2 separate regions of the Homo sapiens genome follow, and region 2 is linked to region 1. The links are contacts of gene promoters, found by promoter capture Hi-C in blood cells and fetal thymus (Javierre and others, 2016). All regions are on one chromosome and are shown on one strand. The core of a region is centred on a gene start or on the middle of the fragment in contact, and the rest is flanking DNA. Distances in the headings are between cores, read along the strand shown.

Evidence for each region. Contacts are between HindIII fragments. The CHiCAGO score rates a contact against its expected background, and 5 or more counts as called.
Region 2: a fragment that was not itself captured here is called in contact with the fragment with the promoter of CDKL2 in region 1 in 1 of 17 cell types (activated CD4 T cells); the score reaches 5.1 in activated CD4 T cells.

The regions. Positions count from the first base shown.
Region 1 is chr4:75,629,254-75,634,030 of GRCh38, forward strand. It overlaps CDKL2 (cyclin dependent kinase like 2), which reads right to left and starts at 1,275. Exons shown (of 14, transcript NM_001330724.2): 1 at 789-1,275. The HindIII fragment of the contact is 1,829 bases long and covers 765-2,593 here.
Region 2 is chr4:77,865,012-77,869,732 of GRCh38, forward strand. All of the region lies in intron 1 of MRPL1 (mitochondrial ribosomal protein L1), which reads left to right. Among named protein-coding and RNA genes, the nearest start is that of MRPL1, 4.5 kb to the left of the region's middle. The HindIII fragment of the contact is 6,388 bases long and covers 1-4,721 here.

The sequences.
Region 1 (4,777 bases), core at 25-2,524:
ATTTGAAAGCACAAAGTGAACCAAAAAAAATGACTTTAAGCATGTCTGAGGTGTTCTGAAGCATATCCCAAGCTAACATTAATGCAAGTTGACTGCTTCAAGTTTATTCTCCCAACCAATTGCATATCTGGACACACCACATTGAACACACCTGCTTTTTCAAGTGACACTGTCCACAAATACTTTAAAAGTATCACAGCCTACAAAGCCTCCTGTTTCCTGAAACAGTTACTCATAAACTATAACTTCTCATGCCTTCTACTCTTGAACGGAAAGGTAATACAAACGAAAAAGAAACCTGGCCAATGGGCAAGGTGTTATTTCTGGATGGTTCTAAAAGCAACAATTTTGATAAAAATATTTGGAGAATGCTAATTTTTTATTTTGTTTAAGACAGATTAAAGGGCCGGGAGCGGTGGCTCACGCCTGTAATCCCAACACTTTGGGAGGCCGAGGCGGGCGGATCACCTGAGGTTGCGAGTTCGAGACCAGCCTAACCAACATGGAGAAACCCTGTCTCTACTAAAAATACAAACTTAGCCGGGCGTGGTGGTGATGCCTGTAATCCCAGCTACTTGGGAGGCTGAGGCAGGATAATCGCTTGAACCCAGGAGGCAGAGGTTGCGGTGAGCCGAGACCATGCCATTGCACTCCAGCCTGGGCAACAAGAGTGAAACTCCGTCTCAAAAAAAAAAAAAAAAAAAAAAAAAAAAAAAAAAAAAAAAGATTGAAATCTTTTATAGATCAAAGAACGAGATAATAGAAGCTTTAAAACGTACTATACTTACCGTTTCTTCAATCCGTTCGCATAGAAAGACCCAAAGGTTTTCAACTTGGAAACAAATTTGAGGTGAAATGCATATGGTTCGCAGGTCCAAAAGATGCTGCCTAGCAAACTAGCAATTCCAGCGCTGTTGTGATTTCTTCTGCGGACGCAGTCACGAGTCCAGGGCGAAGCAGGCAGGGAGGCAGGTGGGCCTCGGTCCGCCGCAAGCTCACACTTAGGAGGACCACGGGCCGCATGCTGTCGTCGTCAAGGCAACGACCTCACTCTGTCCCCAACCATAGGCACAAAGTCTTGGGAGACAGATACGGCCCAGGTCAGAATGCGTTCACGGCAGGCACCAACACCTGTGAAGGCCAAGGGCTAGAGAGCAATTAGCTGGGTGAGAGGCACCACCTCCCAGCTCGTAAGGCGCCCAGTACCTGGAGCCTGGGAACCTGCACCGCTCCAACTACCCCTGGGCGAAGGCGTTGGCCGCGGAGCTGCAAGGGGGGGCGGTTTCTCACCCGCCCCGAGAGCGCCAGGCCTCCCTTCTTCTGATTGGCCGAGCCGAGTCGTCACGAGCCATGATTGGCTCAGGGCCAACCACCCCGCCCCTTCACCTAGGGCTCGGCCCAGGTTCTGCTCCCTGACACGCAGAGGCCCTGCGTCCCCACACGCCTTGGTTCTCGTCAGGAGGCGCCTTTCTGCCTTCCCCAGCGGGAGGAGGCGATTGTGATGCCCACGCGAAGGGTAAAGGTGGCGGTTATGTAGGACTGCGAAGACTATGCAAAATGCGATACGGTTTCCCTCATAGCATCGCCGCTGGGGCAGGGGCGGGCGCCGGGCGCCCTGAGTCGCGTAGGCGCGGCCTGACCGGGATTCCATGCTTCCTTTCTGTTCTGGGCGGTGGGGCCAGTGTGAGCCAGGTAGGAGATAACGGTGACAGTTTAGGAGGTGATGATTAGTAGGCGAGGCAAGGTGGAAGAAGGTAGGTGATGACAGACCTGACGTTAGGAGGGACCTTGGGAAGGCCAGTCTGGCCATTGAAAGTGAGGGAAAACACTGAGATGGAGGAAGGGGAAGAGAGGGCATGAGTGGAATGGGAAAGCGCTGGGATGGCTGGGGATCTGGAGGACACGCACAACACCCGCGTATGGCAGCCAAATGGGGTGGAGTTAGGGCTTGCGATAAAACTTGCCTTAAATGCAAAAATGCAGCTCAATCCACGACTGAGCAAGACTGGTAGGTCAGAATCATGCACAGGCTTAAATCACACAGGAACAGAGCTTACCCCATTTTCAAAGAATCTGAGGCAGCGAGGAGGCCATAAGGCCAGTAAAATAACACTTTCAATCATGATAACTAAATGTTCATGATCATTTTGGTCTCGAAACTACTTTGATTTAGGGAATAGAGTGTCCTGGATAGACAAATGTCTACCATATACCCTAGTCAATATTAAGGTATTAATCATTAATGTTAAGGTATTGATTCCTTCTTGTACATTAAGAAATAGACATTCTTTTTATAGTCTTTTGTGAGTTTGGTTAGTTTGCATTAATCTCCCAGTGGTTAATTACCTTGGTCAGACTGCTTAAAATCTAGTTCCTGAACCTGTAATATTGAGAACCAGACCTGAGGCCTAGTTATGGAAAGAATAGAATTATTTGGTCAATTCAAGATGTGACTCTTAGTGTAGCAATTAGCTCTGTCCTTAGCTGTGTCCAAGTTGCGAGAAGCCCTGTCCCATTTGGTACCTCTATAGGCTATAAGAGAATCTGATGAACTTCTTTTATATGGGGGTAGATTCAGTTTTGTTGGGCCTGAAGCTTAAGAACAAGAGCGCAAAACTATTTTACTTTTGCAACTTTATAATCATATTCAACCGTATAACATTTTAAGGCCCCTTCATGCAAGAGGCCTAGAAGCTTCAATAATCTATTTATATCTCACAGGGAACCAAAGGATAAAGACTGAAAATACTGGATTTGGCGAACAAGTGATGCTTTAGGAAACAATTTCAGCCAGATGCGGTGGCTCATGCCTGTAATCCTAGCACTTTGGGAGGCCAAGGCGGGCAGATCACCTGAGGTCAGGAGTTTGATACCAGCCAGGCCAACATGGTGAAACCCTGTCTCTACTAACAATACAAAAATTAGCTGGGCATGGTTGTGAACGCCTGTACTCCCAGCTACTTGGGAGACTGAAAAAAAGAAAACAAACAAACCAAAAAAAAACAATTTCAGTAAGAACTGAGTTTGAAAGCCAGTTGTAGAGGACAGAGGTTATTAAAGACTTACACATTCTGGCCATCTACAGGATTGTTAATAGAGAAGGTATTATGTAGAAACAGGATTGTGTTACTATTTTTTCTTTCTTTTCTTCTGAGGCGGAGTCTCACTCTGTTGCCCAGGCTGGAGTGCAGCAGCACGATCTTGGCTCACTGCAACCTCTGCTTCCTGGGTTCAAGCGATTCTCCTGTCTCAGCCTCCCAGGTAGCTGGGATTACAGGACCCCACCACCACGCCTGGCTAATTTTTTTCTTTTTTTAGTAGAGGCAGGTTTTCGCCATGTTGGTCAGACTGGTCTCGAACTCCTGACCTCAGTTGATCCGCCCGCCTCAGCCTCCCAAAGTGCTGGGATTACAGGCGTGACCCACCGCACCCGGCCTATTTTTTCTTTTTAAAGAGGGAAATATTTATAGGGAAAAAGAGTGGGGAGAGACCTTAAAGGGGCAAGAAAATGAATAATTAATGAAAAACCAAGGAGAGGTACTGAAGAGTAGGTAATAATATATGAGAAGGGGTTAGGCTTGAAGAGGTTTAGAGAAAATGGAAAAAACTGAGAAAAGTGTAGGGCATACACTGTGGGCCCAGGCCATCTCAGTAAAAGAACTTTATTTTTGCATAAAAAGGTAATGGTGAGATAGAGGCTTAAGGATTTGAGAGCAGAAATACGTTAGAATAGTTAAGAAGTCATTTTGATATAAAAGGAACACAAAATAGTAAAAATGTGCTCACTTGAGCCTGGGTACCATGAATTTACAGTGAACCAACTGACACTGTTGCCCAGAATTGGGCAACCCCAAAGGAAAGAATGGAGAAAATAGATGATATATAAGCTGCCTCTTTTAGAGAACTGGTAATGCAAAAAGATTAAACAAAGGAGTTAAGGAATTTCAGAACAAGGATCACTGAGAAAAAAAAAAGGAATCAAAGATGCTGAAGAAAATACCATTAAAATTGCTTGCCATGGGCTCCTGCTAAATAGGAAGATAAATTTTGACAGCAGTTAGCTAATAAACTGAAAACGGAGGCACTGAGGGTCTGGAAGTCATCATAGGCATGAATAATAAGTTTAAAGGAGCAATATAGGAGGAAAAAGTTATCAGAGAAAGCAGTTTGTGTATTCCAGATGTTGGAAATGGCACAGGATGATCAGTTCTAAAGGGTGGAGTATTTGGCTGTTCCTTGGGTAGCTGAAGTTGAGTGGAAAATGTCATTGAGTTCAAAGAAACTTGAGGTCACAGTATGAAAAATTCATTAACATGAACTACCAAGTAGGACTATAGTGGAAGAGGCTGAGAAAGACATTAATCAGTGAAGAAAGTGAAAATGTTCTAAAAATCTAAAGAAAACAGTATGGGAGTGCATGAGGTAGATGTCAAGAGAGGACAGCTTGAGAGATGGCAATGGCAATGAAATAAATGTGAAATAGATTAAGGACCATATGACCCAGCAATTCCACTTCCAGGTATTATAAGAGAAATAAAAACATGTTCACATAAAAACTTACACACAAATGCTCACAACAGCATTATTAATAACCAAAAAAACAGAAAAAACCCAAATGTCCATCAGCGGAGGAATAAAATTTGGTGTATTCAATTTAATGGAATATTACTCAACCATAAAAGGAAGTGCTGATACATGATGGATGAATCTTGAAAACACTATGCCAAGGGAAAGAAGCCAGACACAAAAAGGCACGTGTTATATAAAGTGTCCAGCC
Region 2 (4,721 bases), core at 883-3,382, 2.2 Mb after region 1:
CCCAAGTAGCTGGGATTACAGGCGCGTGCCACCATGCCCGGCTAATTTTTGTATTTTTAGTAGAGGTGGGGTTTCACCATGTTGGCCAGGCTGGTCTCGAACTCCTGATCTCAAGTGATCCACTCACCTCTGCCTCCCAAAGTGCTGGGATTACAGGCATGAGCCACCATGCCCAGCCGATTATTGTCTATACCTTAATGGTTATCAAATTTATATCTACAGTTGGGATCACTCTTCTGAACTTTAGATTCTTATACTCATCTGAGTATTCTACATCTCCACTTTGATAGCATATCAGCACCTTGCAGTTGTTTAAAATCAAATTCATTGTCATAGCCTGCAGTCTTTTTCTTCTCATTTGAAGGCAATTCCATCCTTCATTTGTCCAGGCCAAAACCTCAGAATATCCTTGACTCTTTTTTTTTTTTGAGACAGGATCTCACTGTGTTGGCCAGGCTAGAGTGCAGTGGCCCGGTCACGGCTCACTGCAGCCTTGACCTCTGGGGCCCACTATGACCAGCTAATTTTTTTTTTGGTAGAGATGAGATCTCACTGTGTTGCCCAGGCTGCTCTCGAGCTCCTGGGCTCAAGTGATCCTTCCACTTCAGTCTCCTGAAGTGCTGGCAGTACAGGCTCTGAGCCACTGCACCTGGCTGACTCCTCTCTGTATCTCACACTTTACATTAAATAGTTTGCAAATCCTGTTGGCTTTACGCTTAAAATAAATCCAGACTCTGACTTCTCACTGCCCCACTGCAGCTACCTTGTTCCCACCTGCTACCATCTCTCACTTGGATTTCTCTACAGTCTACTGTCAATGAGTAGTGAAATTCATCCTTTAAGGACCTCAGTCATGTTACTCCTGTGCTCAGAACTCTGCAAAGCCTTTCCATTTTTCTAAATCCAAAGCCCTTAGAATGGCCTACAGTTGTGCTATTCATTTTGTTAGCCACTATTTATTGAGCACTTCAAATTGGTTAATCTGAATTGAATTTGTCAAATATACATTAGATTTTGAGGGCTTAGCATAAAAAAAAACATGTAAAATACTTTTTTCTGAGATGGAGTCTTGCTCTGTTGTCCAGGCTAGAGTGCAGTGGCATGATCTCGGCTCACTGTAACCTGTGCCTCCCAGGTTCAAGTGATTCTGTAGTCTCAGCCTCCCGAGGAGCTGGGATTACAGGCACATGCCACTGGGTCCGGGTAATGTTTGTATTTTCAGTAGAGACGAGGTTTTGCCCTGTTGACCAGGTTGGTCTTGAACTCCTGACCTCAGGTGATCCACCCGCCTCAGCATCCCATACTGCTGGGATTACAGGCGTGAGCCACCACACCCAGCCCAATTTTTTTACATTGATAATTTAATAATACTTTGGGGTATTAGTGATAAAATATTAACTTACTGTTTCTTTTTACCTTATATATTGTAGTTATTAGAAAATTTTAAATTGTACATGTGGCTTACATTATTCTTCTGTTGAGTAGCACTGGTGTACAAGTCTTCGATATCACCTTGTGCCTACCTTCTCCTACCCCCGCCTCACCCAGCTGACCTCTCTGACCTCTTCTCCATCTATCCTCCCTCACACTCACTCTGCTGTAACCAGCTGGCCTTCTAGTTTCTTAAACACATTAAGAACACTCTTGCCTTAGAATCTTTGCCCTAGAACAGTTTCTTGGTGTTTGCGTGGCTAACTTTCCCATATCTTTTCAACTCTTTGCTGAAATATCACCCCCCTTTTTTTTTTTTTTTGAGACAGAGTTTCGCTCTTGTTGCCCAGGCTGGAGTGCAATGGCGCGATCTCGGCTCACTGCAACCTCCGCCTCCTGGGTTCAGACGATTCTCCTGCCTCAGCCTCCTGAATAGCTGGGATTACAGGCGCCTGTCACAACGGCCAGCTAATTTTTGTATTTTTAGTAGAGATGGGGTTTCAACATGTTGGCCAGGCTGGTCTCGACCTCCTGACCTCGTGATCCTCCCACCTCGGCCTCCCAAAGTGCTGGGATTACAGGCATGAGCCACCATGCCTGGCCTCAAATGTCACCCTTTTAATGAGGCTTGTCTTAACCACTATACTTAAAATTGCAAACCACTTTCCACTGATACAATCCCTTTTATCCTGCAGTGCCTCCATCCCCCAATTATTTTTATTGGTATTGTCTTCCCCCTCTAGACATAAGCCCTATGAGGATAGGGATTTTTATGTTTTATTCACTGATGTACCTAAATGCTTCCAGCAGTGCTAGCACATGTTTCATTGGCGTATTTGTTGAATGAATGAATGAATAAATGGATCATCAGAAAAATGGCCCCTTTCATGTGCTGTAATGCATAATATTTGAGTCCAATTTTTGCTCTCATTTGTTCAAATTTTCTTCATTCAACAAATGTTTATTTAGAGTCTTCACTTGACAAACACTGTGCTAGGTGCTAGGTATACAATGCTGAACAAGCTATATACATTTCCTGCCCATGATGCTTACCATCTATTGAGGAGCAGGAATTAATTGGATAATTCTTTTCTTTTTCTTTTTCTTTTTCTTTTCTTTTCTTTCAAGAGACGGGGTCTCACTATGTTGCCCAAGCTGGTCTTGAACTCCTGGGCTCAAATTATCCTCCCACCTCAGTCTTCTGAAGTGCTGGCATTATAGGCATGAGCGATCAACCCGCCTTGGCTTCCCAGTGTTGGGATTACATGCGTGAACCACTACACCCAGCCTTGGATAGTTATTTCTTTTTTTTTTTTTTTTTTTTTTTTTTTTTAGACGGAGTCTTGCTCTGTCGACCAGGCTAGAGGGCAGTGGCACGATCTCGGCTCACTGCCAGCTCTGCCTTCCGGGTTCACGCCGTTCTCCTGCTTCAGCCTCCCGAGTAGCTGAGACTATAGGCGCCCGCCACCATGCCTGGCTAATTTTTTGTATTTTTAGTAGAGACGGGGTTTCACCGTGTTAGCCAGGATGGTCTTGATCTCCTGACCTCGTGATCCGCCCACCTCAGCCCCCCAAAGTGCTGGGATTACAGACATGAGCCACCGCGCCTGGCCAGTTATTTCTTTTTTTTTTCCTTTTGAGATGGAGTCTCACTCTGTTGCCTAGGCTGGAGTGCAGTGGCACGATCTTGGCCCACTGCAACCTCTGCTTCCCAGCTTCAAGTGATTTTCCTGCTTCAGCCTCCTGAGTAGCTGGGACTACAGGCACGTGTCACCATGCCCAGCTAACTTTTGTGTGTATATTTTGTTTTTTTTTCTGTGATGGACTCTTCCTCTGTTGCCTAGGCTGGAGTGCAGTGGCTCAATCTTGGCTCACTGCAACCTCTGACTCTGGGGTTCAAGCAGTTCCTGCCTCAGCCTCCCGAGTAGCTGGGATTACAGGAGCATGCCACCACACCCGGCTAATTTTTTTTGTATTTTTAGTAGAGACGGGGTTTTACCATGTTGGCCAGGCTGGTCTTGAACTCCTTATCTTGTGATCCACCCTCCTCAACCTCCCAAAGTGCTGGGATTACCGGCATGAGCCACCACGCCCGACCTGGATAATTATTTCTTTAGTTAAAATTGTCCTAAGTGCTGTGAAGGAAAAGTGTAAGATGTTATACAAATGTATATGAGAGACCTAATCTATTCAGGGGAGACTCTTCTGAAGAAATAATGTTAAGTAGAGTCCTTGAAAGATAACTGTATTACTATGAACTAGTGGAGTGGAAAGCAATAGGGGAAAATGTCATAGATGGAAGATTATGAAAATTCTTAGGTGGTAAAGAACAGAGTCAAGTAACTGAAAGAAGATGAGTGTATTTGTAGCATGGTGAACATGAGGGAGAGTGGGGCTAGAGGATGCTCACTGGATAGTTTAGTAGTAGCTCGTGGAGTACCTTGGTAAAAATTTCCTTTGTTCAAAGAGCCAAGTTTAGCCATCCAAGTATTTTAAGGACATGGTGAAATTTTCATTTTAAAATGATCCCTCTTACTAATATAGGTGGAAAAGAAATGGAGAGGGCCAAGTGTAGAAGACAGAACAGTTTAGAGGCTGTGGCAGTAATCCAGGTGGTAGGTGATGGTAGCCTGGACTGTGATGGTTGTAGCAGAAAGGCAAGAATAGATGGATACGATTCCCTAGGGAGAGTGAGGATTATAGAGTCAGGTGAGAAGGCAGTATAGGACTGACCTCAAGGGAACTCTAACCTTTCACTATCAATTAAAAGAGATAAGAAAGGAGAGGGAGTTGTTTCTATCTCATTGCCACGGGGTGGGAGAGATTTTGAGAATGAGTGCTGGATCAGGGAGACTCAGTAGTTCAGGAAGTTCTGAGGGCTATTTTCTCTGAAGTAGCAAGTGAGGTTATATGCTAAGAATAAGGGGAAGAGAAATGTATTAATAAAGGAGATAAAATAATACAGCTAGACAAATTGACTACAAAAGGATTGAAAACATAGATATCATGATCTAACAGTGCTACTTAAATAGTGGTATTTGGTTTCTTTTGGTCTGTAGTGTTTGATTTCTGTTGAAAATTGTAGTTTCTGGTTGTCATGACTGATAGTAGTGGTTTTGCTTGCTTGCTTGCTTTTTGTTGTTTGTTTGTTTGTTTGTTTGTTTGTTTTTGAGACAGAGTTTCGCTCTTGTTGCCCAGGCTGGAGTGCAGTGGCGCGGCTCACTGCAACCTCTGCCATCCAGGTTCAAGCGATTCTTGTGCCTCAGCCTCTCAGGTAGCTGGGATTACAG